Linked DNA regions of Homo sapiens: region 2 is linked to region 1. Evidence: promoter capture Hi-C in human tissues and cell types (Jung and others, 2019). All regions are on one chromosome and are shown on one strand. Each heading gives the region's core, a stretch centred on a gene start or on the middle of the fragment in contact. The rest is flanking DNA. Distances are from core to core; before and after follow the strand shown.

Region 1 (3,393 bases), core at 639-3,138:
CCATGGGTCTGTTTAATGATTTCCCTACCTCCCATTCACCACTGAAGCACATGCCTGTTGTTCTGCCTATAATTCCCCTTCCTTGCTGTGCAATATTTCATTCCATTATTTCTGACACAGACCAAAAAAGCAATAGAAACAGCAGTGTCTGGAGGCAAGTGGGAGCTGGAGAAGCCATAGTTTCTGAGATCTTACCCACTTAATTCTCTGAGATTGGCTCTTTCCTCAGTTATACTGAGTAGGTTTCAGCTCTTCAGTGACAGAGAGGGGAGAAACCCTAGCTTTTATTTCTTCTCTTGAGAATGTACAACCCTGTTATTTTGTGAACAGTGTGGTGTAGATTCAGAGTGAGAAATGTTTTTAGGATTTATTTTATTTTGCTAAAACTGTTCTCAAGGCAGCTCTGGTGTAAGTGAGAATATACCACAGCGGGCGTCAGAAGATCTCAGTTCAAATCCCAGCCTGCCATTTATGAGCTGTGGGACACTGGACAGGTCATCTGTTCTCCTAGAGTCTCCCTTTCCCCATTTGGAAAATATGAAATAATATTCTCAGCCGTCCAGTGTTTTTCACGGGGTTTAATGGAAAAAGGTGTGTATGTTTACTTAGTTAATTGATAACCGGTTTAGCCATTTAAGATGAATGAGTTTGTTAGCTGCTTTATGTTTAGGCAGCTGTAATGTTAGTACTACATTAAAATATTTCAAAAGGATCTCATTTTCAAGGAAAATGATCTAGTGTTTGAGAAAGCATTATAGTGTTGCAGTCTTGCAGATCCTTAGCTCAGCTAGGTCCGAGTTGTCTTATGCAGGAAGAATTAGGCACACAGACACTGGAGAGTGAGTGGAGTAGAATTTATTAAGTGAAAGGAAAACTCTCAGCAAAGAGAGAGGCCCTGAAAGCAGGTTGCAGATTGCCACTTCACAGTTGAATACCAGGACTTTTATAGAAAAGCTGATGAGGCTGGGATACTTATTTGCATAAGGCGTGAATTCCTGGTGTTTCCACCCCTTCCTTCCATTGCGCGTGTGGGCTCTTAGTCTAAGCCACTCCATATTGATTTATTTCCCTTCCTGCGCATGTGTTAAAGGTAGGAATTTTTCACTGTGGGCATATTTAGGCAAGCTCCCTGTGCAAGTTCCCTTATCTGCACAAAACATCTAGTGTAAGTACTTGGGGTTTTTGTGGATTGGGCAATGACCTGGAAGGGTTGGAGGTTCTCTGGGGACCCTTCCCTTACTGCCTGCCTAATGCAAGCTGGCTAACTCCTCTCAATAGGATAAACATTATTTTATGTACAAGGAATATAATACACAGATTGCCCTCAAAGTCATATTTCCAACTGCTCATCAATCTAAAAATCCAAAATTTTGAATAATTTTTTGATGAAATAATTTATTTCATTGTTTCTCAATTTTGGCTGCACAGTGGAACCACCTGGGCTGTTTGAAAAAACCTAGGCCTAGCCAGGCACGGTGGCTCATGCCTGTAATCCCAGCACTTAGGGAGACCAGCCTGGCCAACATGGTGAAACCCTGTCTCTGCTAAAAATACAAAATCACCTGGGCGTAGTTGTGCATTCCTGTAATCCCAGCCACGCCAGAAGCTGAGGCAGAATCGTTCGAATCCAGGAAGTGGAGGCTGCAGTGAGTTGAGATCTTGCCATTGCACTCCAGCCTGGGCAACAAGAGCGAAACTCCATCTCAAGGAAAAACAACAACAACAACAACAAAATCCTGGGCTCTGCTTCAGACTAGTTAAACCAGAATCTCCAGGGTGGGGCACCGGAAAGAACAAGAAAAAAGAACACCTTATTTTTATCTTCTTCAGTGAGCCAATGTTCATTCAAAAGAGAGATTAAAGTGCTTTTTGCTGACTAGTCACAGTCAGAGTCAGAATCACAGGTGGATTAGTAGGGAGTGTTATAAAAGCCTTGAAGTGAAAGCCCGCAGTTGTCTTACTAAGAAGAGAAGCCTTCAATGGATCCAGCTGTGGCTCTGGTGCTCTGTCTCTCCTGTTTGTTTCTCCTTTCACTCTGGAGGCAGAGCTCTGGAAGAGGGAGGCTCCCGTCTGGCCCCACTCCTCTCCCGATTATTGGAAATATCCTGCAGTTAGATGTTAAGGACATGAGCAAATCCTTAACCAATGTAAGTATGCTTTATGTTCCTCCAGTAATGTACAAGGTGTATTTAACCTCACAATTCTTAAAGTTTTATTTCATTTTAAAGTGATAAATGATAATTGTATATATTAATGGGGTACAATATTACATTTTGATACATGTATAGATTGTGAATTGATCATATCAGGGTAATTAGCATATCCATCATCTCAAATATTTGTCATTTCTTTGTAGTGAGAACATTTAAAATCCTCTTTTTTAGCTGTTTTGAAATATACAGTACATTAATATTAATTATAGTCACCTTGCTGTCCAATAGAACACCCGAGCTTATTCCTCCTATCTAAGTGTAACTCTGTACCTGTTGACCAACGTATCCCCTTATTTGGCCCATCTCCACCTGCCAGCCTCTGGTAGCCACCATTCTAATCTCTACTTCTCTGAGTTTAACTTTTTAAGATTCCACATAGAAGTGAGATCATATATGATATTTGCCTCTCTCTGCCTGGCTTATTTAATTAATATGATGTTCTGTAGATTCATCCATGCCGTCATAAATAAGAATATTTTTTCCTCTTTAAAAGGCTGAATAGCATTTCATTGTACATATATGTCACATACAAAATCCATTAATTTATTGATGAACACTTAGGTTGTTTCCATATCTTGGCTATTGTCAATAGCACTGCAATAAACATGGAAGTACAGACATGTCTTCCACATACTGACTTCAATTCCTTTGGGTATATACTGGTAGTGGGATTGCTGGATCATCTGATAGTTCTATTTTTGTTTTTTTTAGGAACATCCATACTGTTTTCTCAAATCACAATGCTAATTTACATACCCAAGGTTCACTTTATTCCACATCTTTGTCAACACTTGTTATCTTTTTATCTTTTTGATAATAATAATATCTTATCTATGAGTTGTGATGAGTTATCTCATTGTGGTTTTAATTTGCATTTCTCTGATGATTAAATTTGTTGAGTATTTAAAAAATATATCTTGGCCATTTGTATGTCTTTTTTTGAAAAATGTCTACTCAAATCCTTTGCCCATTTAATTAATTAATTAATTAATTAATTAATAGAGACAGGGTTTTGCTCTGTTGTAGGATGGAGTGTAGTGATGGGATCATGGTCCCTGCAGCCTTGAGCTCCTGGGCTCAAGCCATCCTTCTACCTTAGACCCCCAAGTAGCTGGGGCTACAGGTGTATGCCACCATGCCTGGATAATTTTTTAATGCTTTGTAGAGATGTGGTCTCATT
Region 2 (3,393 bases), core at 399-2,898, 210 kb after region 1:
ACATGAATACATTAAAAACTTGATAGGGAATATACAGTTATATATTATAGTTATGCAGTATCAAAGTATCTACCCACAAATAGATATAGAATCAAAGAATCTACCCACAAAGTATTTCTTAATTACAAATGTAAGAAGAATAACATTATGGTGGAGGACACAACCAGACACCATAATAAAAAATCAAAGTAGACATCACCCATAATGCGACAGATTGAAATTATTTGTCACCAGATATGTTGCAATGAGAAGTCAAAGCATCTTCTGTGATATTCCTGCCAAAGCTGCATAACCAGAATCTGATTATGAAAAAACATCAGATAATCCCAAATGGAGAGAAATTTTAAAAACTCCCAACCTATGCTTTTCAAAAGTGACAAGGTCAAGGAGGTTGAGGAAAGACTGAGGAACTGTGTCAGGCTGTGATTGACTAAGGAGACATGACAACTAGTTGCAAAATGGCATTCAGGATTCCAAACTGGATTCTGAAATGAATATAATGAATATCATTGGTACTTATTGAGGAAACACTAATGGAAATGAGGATTAGATGGCCCTATTGCATCAATATTAATTTCCTGAATTTGAAGGTTTTATTTTGGTTATATAGTCAAATTGCCTTGCTTATAAGAGCTATATACTAAAATATTTCAGGTTTGGAACTTTAGGTCAGAAAATACTCTCAAATGTTCAAAATAGAGAAAATGCTCTGTACTTCCAACTTTTTGTTACATTTATAGTTATTAAAATTACATAACTGTATTATATATGCATATATATATACACATATATACACAATTGCATATACATATATAAATGATATATATAAAGCCAACAATGGACTCATACCTAAACTATGCAAGCCCTTCAAAAAAGACTTGATATTGCCAAAGCACTCAGCATCATGAAGCTTCACTGAAATGCAAATTAACACTACAATAAGAGAAGATGGCCAAATAAGAACAGCTCCAGTCTACAGCTCCCAGTGTGAGTGACACAGAAGATGGGTGATTTCTGCATTTCCAACTGAGGTACTGAGTTCATCTCACTGGGGAGTGCCAGACAGTGGGTGCAGGACAGTGGGTGTAGTGCACCGTGCATGAGCCAAAGCAGGGTGAGGCATTGCCTCACCTGGCAGGCACAATGGGTCAGGGAATTCCCTTTCCTAGTCAAAGAAAGGGGTGACACATGGCACCTGGAAAATCAGGTCACTCCCACCCTAACAAAGCACTTTTCCAATGGGCTCTACAAACTGCACACCAGGAGATTATATCCTGCACATGGCTCACAGGATCCTATGCCCACAGAGCCTCACTCATTGCTAGCACAGTAGTCTGAGCTCTAACTGCAAGGTGGCAGTGAGGCTGGGGGAGGGGTGCCCACCATTGCCAAGGCTTGAGTAGGTAAACAAAGTGGCCAGGAAGCTCAAACTGGGTGGAGCCCACCACAACTCACGGAGGCCTGCCTGCCTCTGTAGGCTGCATCTCTGGTGGCATGGCACAGACAAACAAAAAGAGCAGTAACCTCTCCAGACTTAAATGTCTCTGTCTGACAGCTTTGAAGAGAGTAGTGGTTCTCCCAGCACACAGCTTCAGATCTGAGAATGGGCAGACTGCCTCCTCAAGTGGGCCCCTGAACCCTGAGTAGCCTAACTGGGAGGCAATCCCCAGTAGGGAAGGACTGACACCTCACATGGCCGTGTACTCCTCTGAAACAAAACTTCCAGAGGAATGATCAGGCAGCAGCATTTGCGGTTCACCAATATCCGCTGTTCTGCAGCCACTGCTGCTGATACCCAGGCAAACAGGGTCTGGAGTGGACCTCCAGCAAATTCCAACAGACCTGCAGCTGAGGGTCCTGACTGCTAGAAGGAAAACTAACAAACAGAAAGGACATCCACACCAGAAACCCATCTGTACATCACCATCATCAAAGACCAAAGGTACATAAAACCACAAAGATGGGGAAAAAACAGAGCCAAAAAACTGGAAACTCTAAAAACCAGAGCACCTCTCCTCCTCCAAAGGAACAGAGCTCCTCACCAGCAATGGAACAAAGCTGGATGGAGAATGACTTTGGTGAGTGGAGAGAAGAAGGCTTCAGAAGATCAAACTACTCCAAGCTAAAGGAGGAAGTTTGAACCAATGGCAAAGAAGTTAAAAACCTTGAAAAAAATTAGACAAATGGATAACTGGAATAATCAATGCAGAGAAGTCCTTAAAGGACCTGATGGAGCTGAAAACCATGGCACGAGAACAACATGATGAATGCACAAGCCTCCATAGCTGATGCGATCAACTGGAAGTGAGAGTATCAGTGATGGAAGATGAATGAAATGAAGTGAGAAGGGAAGCCTAGAGAAAAAAGAATAAAAAGAAATGAACAAAGCCTCCAAGAAATATGGGACTATGTGAAAAGACCAAATCTGCGTCTGATTGGTGTACCTGAAAGTGACAGGGAGAATGGACCAAGCTGGAAAACACTCTGCAGGATATTATCCAGGAGAACTTCCCCAATTTAGCAAGGCAGGCCAACATTCACATTCAGGAAATACAGAGAATGCCACAAAGATACTCCTTGAGAAGAGCAACTCCAAGACACATAATTGTCAGATTCACTAAAGTTGAAATGAAGGAAAAAATATTAAGGGCACCAGAGAGAAAGGTTCGGTTACCCCCAAAGGGAAGCCCATCAGACTAACAGCTGATCTCTCAGCAGAAACTCTACAAGCTAGCACAGAGTGGGGGCCAATATTCAACATTCTTAAAGAAAGAATTTTCAACCCGGAATTTCATATCCAGCCAAACTAAGCTTCATAAGTGAAGGAGAAATAAAATCCTTTACAGAAAAGCAAATGCTGAGAGATTTTATCACCATCAGGCCTGCCCTAAAAGAGCTCCTGAAGTAAGCACTAAACATGGAAAGGAACAACTGGTACCAGCCACTGCAAAAACATGCCAAATTTTAAAGACCATCGAGGCTAGGAAGAAACTGCATCAAGTAATGAGCAAAATAACCAACTAACATCATAATGACAGTATCAAATTCACACATAACAATATTAACCTTAAATGTAAATGGGCTAAATGCTCCAATTAAAAGACACAGACTGGCAAGTTGGATAAAGAGTCAAGACCCATCAGTATGCTGTATTCAGGAAACCCATCTCACGTGGAGAGACACACATAGGCTCAAAATAAAGGGATGGAGGAAGATCTACCAAGCAAATGGAAAATAAAAAAAGCAGGGGTTGCAATCCTAGTCTCTGATAAAACAGACTTTAAACCAACAAAGATCAAAAGAGACAAAGAAGGCCATTACATAATGGTGAAGGGATCAATTCAACAAGAAGAGCTAACTGTCCTGAATATACATGCACCCAATACAGGAGCA

The links. Contacts are between HindIII fragments. The study calls those that stand out against the background at their distance.
Region 2: a fragment that was not itself captured here is called in contact with the fragment with the promoter of CYP2C18 in region 1 in 5 of the 25 tissues and cell types used here (adrenal gland, hippocampus, small bowel and 2 more).

The regions. Positions count from the first base shown.
Region 1 is chr10:94,681,841-94,685,233 of GRCh38, forward strand. CYP2C18 (cytochrome P450 family 2 subfamily C member 18) reads left to right here and starts at 1,889. Exons shown (of 9, transcript NM_000772.3): 1 at 1,889-2,147. The coding sequence starts at 1,980. The HindIII fragment of the contact is 11,159 bases long and covers 1-3,393 here.
Region 2 is chr10:94,891,426-94,894,818 of GRCh38, forward strand. No RefSeq gene overlaps it. Among named protein-coding and RNA genes, the nearest start is that of CYP2C9, 46 kb to the right of the region's middle. The HindIII fragment of the contact is 5,262 bases long and covers 1-3,393 here.